Linked DNA regions of Homo sapiens: all the other regions are linked to region 4. Evidence: promoter capture Hi-C in 16 types of primary human blood cells and fetal thymus (Javierre and others, 2016). All regions are on one chromosome and are shown on one strand. Each heading gives the region's core, a stretch centred on a gene start or on the middle of the fragment in contact. The rest is flanking DNA. Distances are from core to core; before and after follow the strand shown. Region 1 has its middle 1.5 kb from the start of RAB9A. Region 2 has its middle 3.1 kb from the start of TCEANC. Region 3 overlaps OFD1 (OFD1 centriole and centriolar satellite protein). Region 4 holds the start of FANCB (FA complementation group B). Region 5 overlaps OFD1 (OFD1 centriole and centriolar satellite protein).

Region 1 (3,071 bases), core at 505-3,004, 1.2 Mb before region 4:
ATGGATTAAGGATGATGCTCCTATTCATTTTTGCTTGAGAACTCCTTTTTAAGCAGAGCAGTGAAGAAATCCAATTTCTGGCATTTCCTTATACATTGAAATTTTATCTGACTTAAGAATCACTATCAAAAGTTCTATATTAGTGCAAGAAACATGCTGAACTTAGTATCTAGGCAAACTGGGTAAGTGTGACATTGGTATAAAATATTGAAGATGTATATATTATATAAATATGTAAGTATATAAATAAATGCATTATTAAATACGTCAATATATGTTGAAAAGCTATATATTATAAAAAACGCTTCCTCAACCAAATTGGGATTTTTCTTCCATATACTATTTGGTAATGTTCTTTTTCACTTAACATATGTTGTTATGAATTTTCACTCCGGCTTGACTTTAAAGCCAAATATAACAAATTTTGAGTTACTTTTATGTATATTTTATGCTTTTTCCCCCTCTTAGTACAGCTATAGAAGAACATCTATGCAGTATTACGACCAAATCTGTTATTTGGCCAAACAACTTAGGAAAAATATCAAATTTGTGACTATTTACATATGTAATATAATGGTGAAATGGTCTACAACTGAGTTCTGTGTTTTTCCTTGTATGTGAAAATAAAAGCAGTTCAATTATCATCAGTATTTACTGTACCCGAGTCTAGGGCCCACTTACTTGTAGCTTTTTTTTTTTCTTGAGACAGAGTCTTACTCTGTTGCCCAGGCTGGAGTGCAGTGGCACGCAATCTTGACTCACTGCAACCTCCACCTCCCGGGTTCAAGTGATTCTCCTGCCTCAGTCTCCTGAGTTGCTGGGATTACAGGCGCACGCCACCACACCCAGCTAATTTTTTTGTATTTTTAGTAGAGACGGGGTTTCACCATGTTGGCCAGGCTAGTCTCAAACTCCTGACCTCATTATCCACCGGCCTCGGCCTCCCAAAGTGCTGGGATTACAGGCGTGAGCCACCACGCCCAGCCACTTGTAGCTTTTCATCAGAGATGCCAGAAGTGATTTCTTTCAGTCTCCAGCTTGAGATGGGGTATTAACTCCTAGTACTTATAGTAATAAGTAGGTGTTATTTAAGTAAAAGAATCATTTATGCATAGCAACTTTGGCCTCTTTCTCTCCCGTGAGTGATGCATTGGTGTTTACAGAATATAAAGATGAAAATCTTCGTTAGATGAAGGGAGTCAAACTAGGTTAGTTCTTTAATGTTTTCATCAAGGAACAAGTTTATGGAGCAAGAGAGATAGCAACTGTCTATCCAACTTGCATCAGCTTACCAACCACACACATCCAATAACAAAAATCCCCCAAACTTGCCCTTCAGAGAAAAATCTTTTAACCCACTTTACTCTTGCACTGACATAGAAATGTGGTTAAGAAGTGAATGGTGGAAGAGACCAGAATATACTAACTTTCTTAAATGTCAGTTGGCTAGTATCCAACTGATAGTAATTTTAGAGAAAGTAACTTTCTAAGCTTATTCTTTCTTAAGGTACTATAAGCTACACTCAAATATGTTTGAATGCCTTCTTACATTTTGGAACAGCCTGAGAGTCACTTATGGAACCTTCTTAGAACATTTTTATGAAAGCTGTTGGGTTTGTCAAGGTTTATTTTAACTCAAAATACAATAATTTTATGAGATCACTTGTTAATAGCTAGTTGGCATTAGCAGTTGCACAGATAAACTCCTATTTGATCACTCCTTGACTATGGTTAGGATATACGATTTTCAGGTGGCATTTCTTTAATTACCCTGTGGATTGCTTGTTGCAATTTGACCCAATGTACATGACTTTTTTTTCTATTGGAAAATTAACTCTAGTGTTCATATATAATGTTTTACTGTGTACTTTTAATATGTGTTTTAAAACAAGATAGTGTATATTTCTTCTTCCCCCCAATTTAACAGATTTGTATTTTATAAACGTTTATACATATTTCCTTGGGGAAATGACCTGCAGATAAGAAATAGATTTCTGTTTATGAGAAAACAATTATTTAAGCTTATGTGTCGTTTTCAGAAGCATTCTAAAATTGCCTTTTTAATTTGTGAGGAACTTTCTCAAACATGACCTTTCTAGTGCTGAATGAAAAGTCATTACCTGAAAATGACTCCCCAAAAAGCTGGAGATTATTTAACTTGTTGTGAGCCCCAGCATCATAAAAGTGAGATCTTTGTCTTGGAAAATAAACAGACTAAATCTTTTTTAAAAAGCTTTTATTTTAGGTTTAGGGGTACATGTGTAGGTTTGTCATGTAGGTAAACTGCCTGTTGCAAGGGCTTGGTGTACGGATTATTTAGTTACCCAGGTAATAAGCATAGTACTTGATACCTAGTTTTTTTCTGCTCCTTTTCCTCCTCACACCCTCAACCCTCAAGTGGGCCCTGGTGTCTCTTGTTCCTCTCTATGTGACCATGAGTTCTCATCATTTAGCTTCTACTTATGAGTGAGAACACGCAGTATTTGGTTTTCTGATAAACAAACTAAATCACCGTACAAAACGTATTGAGATGTCCCTATGAGTCCCTCCCGCCTGTAGGGTTCTGTATCATAGGATCCATGCACTCAACTTCATACATAAAGCAAGGACTTAAGGAGAGCTTCTCCAATACCACCTTTTGCACCATCGCTTTCTATTCAGAGATGACAGAGGCAGTATTTTAACAAGATTAAAGGAAAGTTTTAATAGCTTCATTTAAAAAGTTCTTGTTTTTCCACAGTATCACAACTGTTTTCATTTTTCATCCACCTGTTTGTTCTTTGTCCGTTTGACTAGTCGTTTTTATCATTGTAATCACGACATCCTGTGACTGTGCTCATGAGGTCTGTTTATTTCCACTTTACGTAAACTTTTCAAAATGACAGTTATTTCGTACTCGCTGTCGCCCGAACGCAGACGGGAGGACACTTCAGGAGCAATCGACCCGAAGGAAAAGCACGATCCAGGCCCCGCCTGCCTCGGCTCCACCTTCCCCGCGCCCGTCCCCCAGGGTCTCGGCCGCGGGACCCCGCCTTCCAGGCCCCGCCCCGCTTTTTCCCTGGCCCCGCCCC
Region 2 (3,094 bases), core at 388-2,887, 1.2 Mb before region 4:
ACATATCCTTCTTCACATGGTGAAAGCAAGGAGAAGTACAGAGCAAAAGGGGAAACACCCCTTATAAAGCCATCAGATCTCATGAGAACTCACTATTACAAGAACGGCATGGTGGTAACTGCTCCCATGAATCAATTACCTCCCACCAGGTCCCTCCCACAACACATAGGCATTATAGGAACTACAATTCAAGATGAGATTTGGGTGGGGACACAGCCAAACCATATCAACCAAGAGGTGACTGAAGCCAGACTTTCTGGTCCTTCATCATTCCTCCACTAAATGTTGCCATAAATCTATGGTAGAATAACATACCTTCTAGAGAAATTAGCAAAATGGACAAATGGTATAGAAAAGGAGAATAAGAGGTATGGAACTGATCTGGAGATTACTACAGGTACAAGAAGGTGTTAAATGGGATATTTCCTGACTCAGAGTTTTGTCCAAGGCCCCAAAGGTGAGAGCACAATGTTAAGTGTCTGCTGGTTCTAATGAGAGATGTTAGACCATTTACCCAGGGCTTACTAAATGATGAGCCAAAAACTCCTGTCACCCATGCCCGTTTGCCACTCTTCAGCTTATGTACAGGAGAAGGCAACAGTGAAAGAGGGTTGTTACAGTTCTGGAAGCTTCCTTCCCACCCCCACTCCAAGGCAAGTGAGGGTGACTTTGAGAGAACCACTCAGAGAGATTGACAGGTGCCCCTGTTGTAGAATGGTGTCTGACTCTCCAAAAAAAAAAAAAAAAAAAAAAAAAAAACAATAAATAGGCGAGAAGCCAGCTAGAGCTACCTAAGACCAACTGTGAAGATGACGAGAAGGGCTGCAGAGGGAACAGCCCTGCTTCCAGGGCTGGGCGGGGAGCAGGGCCGCTGGGTTGTTCCCATGGGCTAAGTGCACATCAAGCAAGCAGCTGGGCCTAGGCTGTCTTGGAAGGACCCTGACCAACAGGCCTGCAGGTGAGGTAACCCGACAGAAAAAGTTTGTGTGGGATGTGCTACCAAAAGCAGGAGCCAGCGGTTAACCAGAGGGTGCAGCATCTGAACCATGGAATGGGTAATAAGGGGCTACCAGCAAAGGGAGGGTCCTCCAAAAAATCTCCAAAGTGGGCCCCTCCAAAGAACAAAAGAGGTATTAGGTTGGTTTAAGCAATCTGTGGCCCACCAGCCAGGGACTGCCTGACCCGTTGAACTAGCTCTTCTGGAAGCCTCTGGGGATGTTCACTGGAGATACCATGTTCGCTGCTTCTCTGTCATTTCACCTGCATAAGTCTGAGAAATATGTTGCAGAACTTAAACATAAAGTTTCTGTTTCTATAATGTATGACTTTTTGTTCTATTTCCTAATATTCTGTAACTCCTGAGATTTCAAGGGAACTCTTCATCGTTTTAATCCCATGCCTTATGTACTGTGACTTATAAGAACATCCCCAGTTAAGCCCAGTGTCTGGTCCTGGTGTTTTATCAGGAAATGAACACCGGCCGGCACCTCAGAACCCAGAAAGAGGCAGTTTCTATGACCTCATTCCATGGAAAACATCTGTAACTGTTCCCTCAGCAATGTGTAACATTAGCCTCTGGAGAAGGCCCATAAGATTTTGTCTCTCTTCCGTGGGAATTTGCAGGAAAGGGCTGTCTGCATGAGCTCAGAATATCTATTAATATATTGCCACTCAGAGACTTAATAAGGATTGAAAAGAGGTTTCCGCTGCACTAAGGGAAATTTATCAAAGAGAATTCCAGAGTATTGAAGCAGCTGAAAGATGATTTTAAAACAAAGGCCTGAAAACTATGCATGATAAATTATCATAGATGTGAGTACTTTTATAGGTATTCCATTTTTAAATTGCCCAAAAGAACAAACTTTTCAGCAACCTCTTTAGAATCCACTGGCAGCCCTAGATTCATTCCAGATGAACTCAGCCAGAAATTTCTACAGCAATGAGCATGTTCTATATCTGTGCTATCCAATATGGTACCCACTAGCCACAGGTGGCTATTGAGAACTTGACATTTAGCTAGTGCAACTGAGGAACTGAAGTTTAAATTTTATCTGAATAGCCACATGTGGCTACTGTAGTAGACAAGGCAGGACTACGCAGTAATTATAGCTTGCCTCTTAGTTGAAATAATGGTCTTATCCTTCACACCAGAGAAAACACTAGGTTGTTTTTGATTTTAGACTTTTGAGTAATTTCTGTTTTTTTCTTCAGCATAGAGTTCATGAGAAATTGATTATAATATGCCTCAAAGCTCTAATGACCACTTCTGTAGTAACTTCTAGTTTCCAAACTGACTCCTTCAGATTGAGCCTTTCATAGTTTGAGTGCCATTGTTTTGACAAATATCAGATATTTTAAGAATTGCATGTTACAAATCTGATCACAAAGAAAGTATTTTTCCTAGGTAACTGTCTAAAACTAGAGATGGTTGGTCTAGGAGCCAATAGTCCTTCGGATTTTTAAATCAGTGTTTACAAAGTGGGGCAAGAGTACTCATAAAATGAACCAAAAAAGTAACAATGAGAAGAGAAATACCATTAAAGCATGTTAAATTAAATAAGCAGGAGGCTATTGGCTCAAGGCTGTCTCTGTACTTTGATTTTCTACACAATGAATTGCAATTTAACTTAGTACATAAATACACTGAAAGCTTAACCTAAGGAAGAGTATAATAAACAGCCAAGTCTCAGCCAAACACAAGCAGACAAGCTTCAGCCAATCACAAGCTGCCAACTTCTCAGATCATATCCAAATGATCTGATCATTGATTGCAACCAATCAGCCTATTTCTGTATTTTACTTCCATTCTCTGTCTATAAATACTCACGGCCCACAAAGCTCTCTGAACCTATTCTGATTCTGAGTGCTGTCCGATTCATGAATCATTCTTTGCTCACATAAACTCTGCCAAATTTAAATTACGTCAATTTTTTTTTATTTTAACAGGCAAAAGTAAAGATTATCAAGCATTCTTTTCCAACCAAACTTTAGTCAGTCTCCTGACTAGGCCTATCTGTGCACTTCCTTGTAAAATCCAGTTTTAGCAAAAAGCCTTGATAAATCAGTTTAGCCAAAAGCAACCACCCTCAATATC
Region 3 (2,724 bases), core at 219-2,718, 1.1 Mb before region 4:
TTTACGTTTAAAATATGTAGCTATATCCTGTGTATGTATCCTTTTTTAATTTAAATTATATGGTGAGCATTTCCCTGTTTCCTTAAAAGTTTTTTGAAATCTTCATTTTCAGTGGCAACAGGCTTATCTTTGGATATTTTTGTAATGTATATAGCAGTCCCCTGTTGTTGAATATTTTGGTTATATTCTCCAACAGTCCACAGAGGTGTGATGAAGTGGCAGAATTTTTTCCTATACTTAATATCCCAATCGTAAGCTGCTGAAATGGGCTTCTAGGGAAGTGAAGTTATGAGTCTGCAAGTGGATCTGGCTAACCACCCGTTTCATTTGGAAGCTGGGGAAAGAAAGCTTTTTCTAGAACCCACTGGACTGCTTGTCTCACGGGGTAAGACAAAGTGTGCAGGGGAAGGTTTCTAACTTCTGGCCATGGATCTAGAACCATTATGGAAATAGAAGGAAGGTTTCCAATGAATGTAGCTCATCTGTGTATATCTCTAATGAAACAGTCCTGCTGAAATTTCTTTCCCTTGTGTTTCTTTTTTATTTTTGTTTTTATTTTATGCTAGACACAACTTCGAAACCAGCTAATTCATGAGTTGATGCACCCTGTATTGAGTGGAGAACTGCAGCCTCGGTCCATTTCAGTAGAAGGGAGCTCCCTCTTAATAGGCGCCTCTAACTCTTTAGTGGCAGATCACTTACAAAGATGTGGCTATGAATATTCACTTTCTGTTTTCTTTCCAGAAAGTGGTTTGGCAAAAGAAAAGGTAAAGTCTTTCCTTTTCTGTTTCTGAAGTTTTTATTAACAGGTTCTTCCTCTGCTGACAGTAAAGTGCTGTATGATAGCTAAGTGCTCCTCGACTAGGTCCATTTCTGTTTCCTCTTTGAATTCACATTGTACCTGCACATAATATATTTGTTATATAACAAGTGGGTACTAAATTTGAAATTAATTTCTTGGCGTCTCATTTAGTCTCACATAAAACAGTGATGTATAGAATCTCTAAATGTTTCAGACCTATAATTGATCTATCTATCCTCTATCTTGTCTAATAAGACTCTGCCAATCTGCTGAATGTCTGCTGTAAGCTTGGCACTGTGATAGGCACACTGCAGATGTTTTGTGTGTTACGGATGAGGAACCAGACTCTGGAGAGGTGAATCAATTTGCCCAACATCAAGTAACTTTTAAGTGACAATGCAGGGTGGTAAATCTAGATCTCTAACATGAGCTCTTTTTTTCCTGCACTAGTTTCTTCAGATGTTTCTCTTTGTAATTAGATAAGTGAGAAATACGTAATTTAAAAAATCTGTAAAGTTCTCAAATATTAAAAACACTTGTTTTTTTTTTTTACTACTTTTCTAATTATTTTAACTATATTTCTTCACCATTACTGTTGAACATTAGTACTACTTTATTATTTTAAAGGCAGATACAGCAGACTTTCCCTGTGGATATGTGCGTGTTTTTTTTTTTTTAATAGACTTTATTTTTTCAGAGCAGTTTTGGGTTCACAGCAAAGTTAAGTGGGAAGTACAGAGAATTCCCATATACCTGCTGCCCCTACACACTCATAGCCTCCCCCACTGTCAACATCTTGCATCAAGGTGGTACATTTGCTACAATCTATAAGCCTACCCTGACATGTCATTATCACCCAGAGGCCATAGTTTACAGTGAAGGTTGCAGTGAGCCGAGATCATGCCACTGCACTCCAGCCTGGGTGACAGAGCGAGACTGTCTCAAAAATAAAATAAATTTCACTCTTGGTGGTGTTCATATGTTTTTACTTTCTTTGTGTTTTCTGTAATTATCCAAAAGTTTCATATTCCAAAGTTTTAGTGACACAAGCTTAGTACAGTATTTGAATGAAAACTTAAATAATTTGCATTTCTTCATAAGCAACCAAATTTTATTTGTCAGCATTAGGAATTTATTTATTAATTTATGTTTTTGAGACAGAGTCTTGCTCTGTTACCCAGTCTGGAGTGCAATGGCGCAGTCTTGGCTCACTGCAACCTCTGCCTCCTGTGTTCAAGCAATTCTCCTGCCTCAGCCTCCCAAGTAGCTGGGATTACAGGTGCCCACCACTACACCTGGCTAACTTTTTTATTTTTAGTAGAGAGGAGGTTTCACCATGTTGGCCAGGCTGGTCTCGAATCCTGACCCCAGGTGATCTGCCCACCTCAATCTCCCAAAGAGCTGGGATAACAAGCATGAGCCCTCGTGTCTGGCCTGGAATTCATTTTTGATACATCATTCTCTAACTTTCTAATCACTTTATACTTTTACTTATTGTGTAATAGTCAATAATACAATTATATAGCAGGAATTAATCCTATTCATACAACTTAACGGTTTCTACTAATGTAAAATGCCCATGCAGAATATTTACTTTAAAGGAAAACCAATTGAAAACAAATATCAGTGTTCTCAGAGCAGACATAGTGAATGGTATATACTGTAGTAGAAATATATTTTAATAGCTACCCAAAATGTCTGTTAAACAATATTTTAAGTACACTTTAATTACGGTTTTAAGGACAGTAAAAATCTATTTACATTTTTAAACAATGAATACTTTTTAAAAAATTGTAATTGAATGACCCAGGAACTCAGTCATGTAGTCATTGGTTCATCAGATATTTCAGTGTCATCTGTAAGGCATTAAACATTTAGGCATATCATCTTTGATGTGAAGTACTTAGAAGTTAATTAGATGA
Region 4 (3,205 bases), core at 507-3,006:
AGTGAGATCAGACTGGAAAAAGAGCTAACAATTAGAAGAAAATTATGAGTACTTAAATAAAAGGGAGAGATGACTCTGAAGGTAATTTGGCAGTCAACTGAAATGCATATACCCAGTAGTTTCATTTGTAGATATAAACCCAGAGACATAATCCCACATATGAATGAATACATTGCTCTAGAAGCTCACTGTGCTGATATTTGCAATATAAAAAAAGTAAAAACCTCAATGAACACCAATAGGGGAATGAGTATAGATGGACTATCAAACAAGAGTTAAAAGGAATGAATTAGATCTATCTATCTATATATGTGTGTGTGTGTGTGTGTATATATATATATAATCATGGTTAAATTTCAAAAATAAAATGAATTAAAAATTAAGTTGCAGACAAATGTACACTGCAGCATATTATTTATGTAAAACAAATAAAACAGCATTATATATGTTCTATTTACCTACAATGACTACAGTCCCTGAGTGCTTTCTCAAGAAATAGTGCCATGTACTATTTTTTTTTTTTTTCCTGAAGAAACAGTGCCAGGTACTGCTCTAAGCACTTTGGATTAACTCGTTTCTTCCTCACAACATCCTTATGACATAGGCACTGTTACTATCCCATTTTATAGATGGAGAAACTGAGGCAAGGAGTTTCAGGATCTTCTCAAAGGCTTGCAGATAAGAAGTGACAGAGCCAGGATTCAAACCCAGGCAGTATGATCCAAAATAAAAAAATGTAAAACTGTAAACATTTCATGCCAAATTCTGAATGCTGTTGATTCTGGACAAGGAAGTGTCCAGGATAGGTGAGTAGAGGTAGAAGGAGACTTTAGTTATATCTGAAATATCTTTTAAGGATGTAGTCAAACAACGTTTAAACAATGTGTTCATTTTTTCCCATAAAAAATGTAAATATATTTAAAAGTCTAGGACAAAAGATGCTAACATGCCATTCTGTCATGGATGACTACGGTTGATGGAAATATGGGGGACTATTCTTACAACTTGTTTGTAGTTTTCAGTATCTTTCAACTTTAAAAAAGGCAATATTGTATGCGCAACTATTTTCTTTCAATTGTTTTTAACTGACGAATAAAATTTGTTCCAGTCCCTTTAAATCTAAATCTTTCTCAACCTTGACACTATTGACATTTTGGGCTGGATAACTGTTGTGAATTTTCATGTACACTGGAGGATGTTTGGCAGCTTCCCTGGTCTCTATCCACTAGTAGCCAGTGAGCATCTCTTTTGCCCCCGGCCCCTAGCAGTGGTGACTAAAAATGTCTCCAGAGGTTGCCAAAGGTCCCCTGGGTGGTAAAACCGCCCCCCCCACACACACCCCCCCACCCCCCCGGCTGAACACAACTACCTTAATAAGCCGAAACACGCTTTTTTTAACTTTATATAATTATTTGAGATTAAAGATTTCAGAGATATTTTGCTCATTAAGCATCTCACACTCCAAGTTGGAAGGATACTGAAGGGATGAAAAAAACTTCAAGCGAATGTAGCACTTAAAATCCAATTATCATTGCAAGGAATGACAGACCCAGGTCTCGGGATGCCCGCTTCCTTCCCTCTCTCCCGCAATGCGGGGACAAGGGGAGGAAATCCAGCCCCATCGCCCCCTCTGCGAAGTCCTGGGAAGGGAAGACTCGCCAGCCCCATCCTACCTCAACGCAGCGGCAACATACCGGAGGCCCCACGTCGATACGGTATCCATCTGCTCCAAACCTCCCGCCAGCGCGCTGCATCCTGGGAGGCCGGGCGGAGGCTGCGTCGAACGCAGAGGAGGCGGAGCCTAGAAGCCAGCCAGGAGAGGTGGCCAAGGGAGGCTGAGGAGGCGGGGCCCTGGGGAGTGTTGTGAAAGCAGAGAGCCCGCGAGCTCTCTAGGGCGGAGCTCCGCGGGGGAAGCGCCGGCGATCTCGCGGCTGGCGGGGGCGGGACCGCAGTGCGGGGGATGTCGCGGGGCGAGGCCAGACGAGAATCGAATGGGACCTAGGCTGAGGGCCTGGTCCCGCCTCCAGACCCAGGCGTCCGCATTGGATTGGGCGGTGCGGCGGCGCTTCTGTCCGCCTTCCGGTGTCACGCGACCGCCTCCCCCTCCCACCCTTCTCTGTCTACCTCTGGGCGGGACTGCCGGGTGATGAGATACTCGGTCGGCGACGGTAGAACGGGCGACGGCGACAACCGCAATCACATCCACGACGGTGATCATGGCAGAGGTGAGGAGCCTATTGCACCGCCGCTGGCCCCCCGGACCCGGAAGCCGCCTCTGAGGCCCGGGGACCGAGCGCCCGTGTGCAGGTGGGCTGGGTTGAGGGTAAGCGGGTTGATGCAAGTAGTATCTAAGGTCCCATCGTGTCTCCCATCCAGAATCACGCCCAGAATAAAGCCAAGCTCATCTCTGAGACCCGGAGGAGGTTCGAAGCTGAGTATGTGACAGGTGGGTACTCTGTTCCAGGTATTAAGAAAGGTGTGCAGTGAGCATCCCCAACTTTGCTGGAGTGTTTGTGAGTGTATTTGTGGGAGGTGTTAGGGACCCTTTCGACCCTCACAGGAATGATGCTGGGCACGTCTCAAAGGTTTTCCTCTCCATGACAAGCCGTGTGCACTGCTTCAAATGGTCAAGTGGTGTGTCCCATGCTCCCTTTAAAGGGTTAATGTAAGTTGGAAATCGGTTAAGTTTTTAGCATGCCCTCGTGTTTATGGAACTTGCAGGATACTTGTTAGGCCCACAACACGGGTGACATTGTCCAGTCCACGGTTCCACTGCTGGCCTTTCACCAGCAACACTAGCGAAAATGTACCTGGAAACTGCCATAATACTATTGATGTGTACTTAATTGGGTATACAAATTCCTTGGATATTTTGTTTGATTTGGCTTTCATACAACCCAGCATGCTACCCACAAAATAGGCCCTCCAATGCTGGAACAAGTTCTTATCCCAAACTGTATCTTGCAAAGTACCTATGAGTCCAGAATTGATTTATTGGTTGAACATTCTGTGTCCAGATGTCACAGATACTTGAGTTGTCAGGTACTTAACTGAATATTTAATGCTTGTACAGTAATTTTGTAAAACATACGGAATAACTTATTGTAAATATGGAATTAAATAAGGATTTATATGTTGCCTACCTTAAGATTGATTGTAATCCTAACCCTGCCACTACATAGCTTACTTGTCTATTCTGAGCCCG
Region 5 (3,160 bases), core at 256-2,755, 1.1 Mb before region 4:
AAGGTAGACTGTGCTTTGCTGCAGAACTTTGCTTTGAAAACAGGGTTTAAAGAAGAGACTGTCAGTGCCAGCTAGCTGGGACTAGAACCCAAGGGAGGAGTGGCTGCCAGTTCACAGTTGCTTCCAGGGGCACACACTCCCTCCCTCCTTCCTCTATTTCTCTTCTTGCCTTCTGTGTCCCAATTCTAGTCCTAGCAGATGGATTACTCTGTCCACTTAACACACCTGCTAAGTCTTGCTTGAATTACTCTAACATATGAATGTTCCTTGGACTCTTGGTTAATTCAAGTCCAAAGCACAGGACACTTGCCAATTAATACCTTCCTTCATTGAGATGACATATTTGTCTTCCTTTGATGATAGCAATGACTTCAATTTTAAAAATTAGTCCTCTGGCATACAGGCTGTACTTGAAGGATCGGGATTAATATTAGTGCATTTTTAAAACACTTAAAAGTTTTACAAATGTATTTGTGTATTTTCTGTTTTGGTGCCTGTTTTATAGAAGATGATTGAAGAATCACTGAAGATTAAAATAAAAAAGGAATTAGAAATGGAAAATGAATTAGAAATGAGTAATCAAGAAATAAAAGACAAATCTGCTCACAGTGAAAATCCTTTAGAGAAATACATGAAAATCATCCAGCAGGAGCAAGACCAGGAGTCGGCAGATAAGGTGCCAGTGCCATGGGCAGGGCAATCTGTGGGTGGGGGACATCCAGGGCTTCCGTGGCTTAACTTCTTGGGACGGGAATCCGTCTTCTCCATTGAAGACAAAAAGGTGAAAAGTATAGAAAATCCAAAGTTCAAATGGAACCTTGAGTCTTTTAAATATACTATTCTTTTGACAAAAATTCATAGCTTTTTTGCTTAAGGTAAAAGATTTAAGAGATTTTAATTTGTAAAAGTTGGGGTGGCTCATTAAGAAAGAAAAGATCTATCAAATGCATTAATACTGACATTAATATTTTATGTAAGTCTGAAGTATTATGGGTGTTAAATGCATACCCTATAGTTTATTTTGATGTGCTTGCTAAATTTCATGTTTAAAAGTCACCTCTTTTTTAGACTTTTAAATTACATATATATTTCAAAAATGGTTCTTAAAGTATTTCATGAAATTAATGCATATCTAATTTCAAAATTTTCCACCCTCTCCATGTAATCAGAGCTCAAAAAAGATGGTCCAAGAAGGCTCCCTAGTGGACACGCTGCAATCTAGTGACAAAGTCGAAAGGTACCTGTTTTCCCTACACACTTTCATACACAAACTGTTAATTGCTTATTTTGTCAGCCAAGAGAAACAGATGTTTGAGATTGCCTGTAAGAAGTTATTGAATCAGTCAAAATTAGTGACTATAAAAACAATTGAGTTTTTTGACTTGTGAAATTGATCCTGATATAAATTGTAAACTAGGGCAGAAACCCCCCAGGGAAGGAATTGAGAACATTATGAAGATAGCAAATAAACTTGACACAAATTTTTACATTTTAATTTTTATCTTTCCCTAATTTAGTTTAACAGGCTTTTCTCATGAAGAACTAGACGACTCTTGGTAACCATGTTTGCTGCCCAGCTTCTAACTTACATACCGTGAGAAGTTACGTAACATTTACTCCTTTGTAAATGTTTCCCTATCATCAGACAAAACTCAATAAAAATGTGTGTAATCCAATGTGGGTTTTTTTTTCCATAATTAATTTTGATACCATAGTGTGTGAACCAAGAATAATCTAGTCACGTGAAACCTCTTCTCCAGTCATAGTATTTCTCATTCATTATAATAAAAGTAACTGGCTTTTAACCTCCTTATTTTTGTCTTAAATTTATAAATGAGTATAACCTATCTTACTGCTCAACTGCAGGCCTACATTTTGGAAGTATAAGCTGTGTTCTTTCCTCTCCAAAGTTGGGCTGCCACCTGTAAAACAGGAGGTCATTTTTCCTAGCACACTCCTGTTTTGTCCCTGAACATAAAAACAGATTTTTCTAGGCATTAGAAATAGTAAGAAAGATACTGCCTCTGGTCTTTACTTCTGATGTCTGTGGTTTGTATGTATGTGTCCCTCCAAAATTCATATGTTGGAATTTAAACCCCCCCGTGTGATAGAATTAAGAGGTGGCACCTTTTGCAGGTGACTAAGAGTGGGATTAGTGACCTTATAAAAGGGCTCAATGGAACTAGCTAGGCCCTTTTGCCCTTGCACCATTTGAAGACACTGCATTGATCCCCTCTGGAGAACACAGCAACAAGGCACCATCTTGGAAGCCGAGACCGGGCCTTCACCAGACATCGAACCTGCCAGTGCCTTCCTTGATCTTCGACTTCCCAGCCTCTAAAACTGTAAGAAATACATTTCTGGTCTTTGTAAGTTACCCAGTCTAAGGTATTTTGCTATAGCAGCAGGAACAGACTGAGATAGCATCTTTATTATGGAACCTTTGGTCCTCATACTTAATGAATGGGCGTATTTCCTTTGTTTTTAAATGAATGGGCTCCTTCCCTATAATTGACTTCATCTCTTAAAAAATCAAGTTTTACAAGGCAGAACTGGAAAAAAATCTCTACTGAACCCTCTAAAGGGTCCTAGGTTTCGTGGCAGGATCACTATGGGTAATTAAGAGGCTGCTTGTGATTTTATCTAACCATTATTTACAGTTTTCCTCTGGTGACTCATGTGACTTAAATAATTGCACAAAATGCTACTTAAACAGAAGATACTAAGTAGTGTGACAAATAGCACACTAATTGAGCCTCCTGATTGTTCTGCCATGCATGAAGGAAGGGTGATGATCTAGAGTCAGCACCTCATTTAGGAATGGCCATGTGTCAATAGTGACAAAGGCTGGGCCTCACTAAGAAAGGTCAGACGCAGAGAATCCAAATGCATAATCATGTTGAGAGGTAAGAGTTTAAACAGATTATAAAATAAAATCCTAAGTAACATATTTAGCTTGGCTACTCTAGAGAGTCAACTGTTAGAACTAGGTTTTTTTGTATTCCAGAGTAAATCTTTCAATAGACTTTTGTACCTTTGGTTTGAAAAATAACTACACACATGCCCTTATTTTGTTTCTGCTTTGCCCACGTTTAAGCTTTGTTGATCCTATAGGTAGATGGCATTTATTTGTTGAAAAACTAGTCAGAAAAATTCTTAC

The links. Contacts are between HindIII fragments. The CHiCAGO score rates a contact against its expected background, and 5 or more counts as called.
Region 1: a fragment that was not itself captured here is called in contact with the fragment with the promoter of FANCB in region 4 in 1 of 17 cell types (fetal thymus); the score reaches 6.9 in fetal thymus.
Region 2: a contact is called between a fragment that was not itself captured here and the fragment with the promoter of FANCB in region 4, in 5 of 17 cell types (total CD8 T cells, non-activated CD4 T cells, activated CD4 T cells and 2 more). The highest score is 8.5, in total CD8 T cells.
Region 3: a fragment that was not itself captured here is called in contact with the fragment with the promoter of FANCB in region 4 in 2 of 17 cell types (fetal thymus and non-activated CD4 T cells); the score reaches 6.6 in fetal thymus.
Region 5: a fragment that was not itself captured here is called in contact with the fragment with the promoter of FANCB in region 4 in 1 of 17 cell types (total B cells); the score reaches 6.0 in total B cells.

Annotation. Positions count from the first base shown.
Region 1 is chrX:13,686,046-13,689,116 of GRCh38, forward strand. No RefSeq gene overlaps it. Among named protein-coding and RNA genes, the nearest start is that of RAB9A, 1.5 kb to the right of the region's middle. RefSeq lists an enhancer at 2,783-2,832 and a silencer at 2,983-3,071. The HindIII fragment of the contact is 530 bases long and covers 1,490-2,019 here.
Region 2 is chrX:13,648,462-13,651,555 of GRCh38, forward strand. No RefSeq gene overlaps it. Among named protein-coding and RNA genes, the nearest start is that of TCEANC, 3.1 kb to the right of the region's middle. The HindIII fragment of the contact is 2,021 bases long and covers 628-2,648 here.
Region 3 is chrX:13,735,912-13,738,635 of GRCh38, forward strand. OFD1 (OFD1 centriole and centriolar satellite protein) reads left to right here. Exons shown (of 23, transcript NM_003611.3): 3 at 567-767. Among named protein-coding and RNA genes, the nearest start is that of OFD1, 2.5 kb to the left of the region's middle. The HindIII fragment of the contact is 763 bases long and covers 1,088-1,850 here.
Region 4 is chrX:14,871,313-14,874,517 of GRCh38, forward strand. It overlaps FANCB (FA complementation group B), which reads right to left and starts at 1,757. Exons shown (of 10, transcript NM_001018113.3): 1 at 1,674-1,757. MOSPD2 (motile sperm domain containing 2) reads left to right here and starts at 2,109. Exons shown (of 15, transcript NM_152581.4): 1 at 2,109-2,225; 2 at 2,377-2,446. The coding sequence starts at 2,217. RefSeq lists a silencer at 1,847-2,076. The HindIII fragment of the contact is 4,870 bases long and covers 1-3,205 here.
Region 5 is chrX:13,767,549-13,770,708 of GRCh38, forward strand. OFD1 (OFD1 centriole and centriolar satellite protein) reads left to right here. Exons shown (of 23, transcript NM_003611.3): 21 at 506-676; 22 at 1,170-1,237; 23 at 1,518-1,809. The coding sequence ends at 1,560. Among named protein-coding and RNA genes, the nearest start is that of OFD1, 34 kb to the left of the region's middle. The HindIII fragment of the contact is 3,179 bases long and covers 1-3,095 here.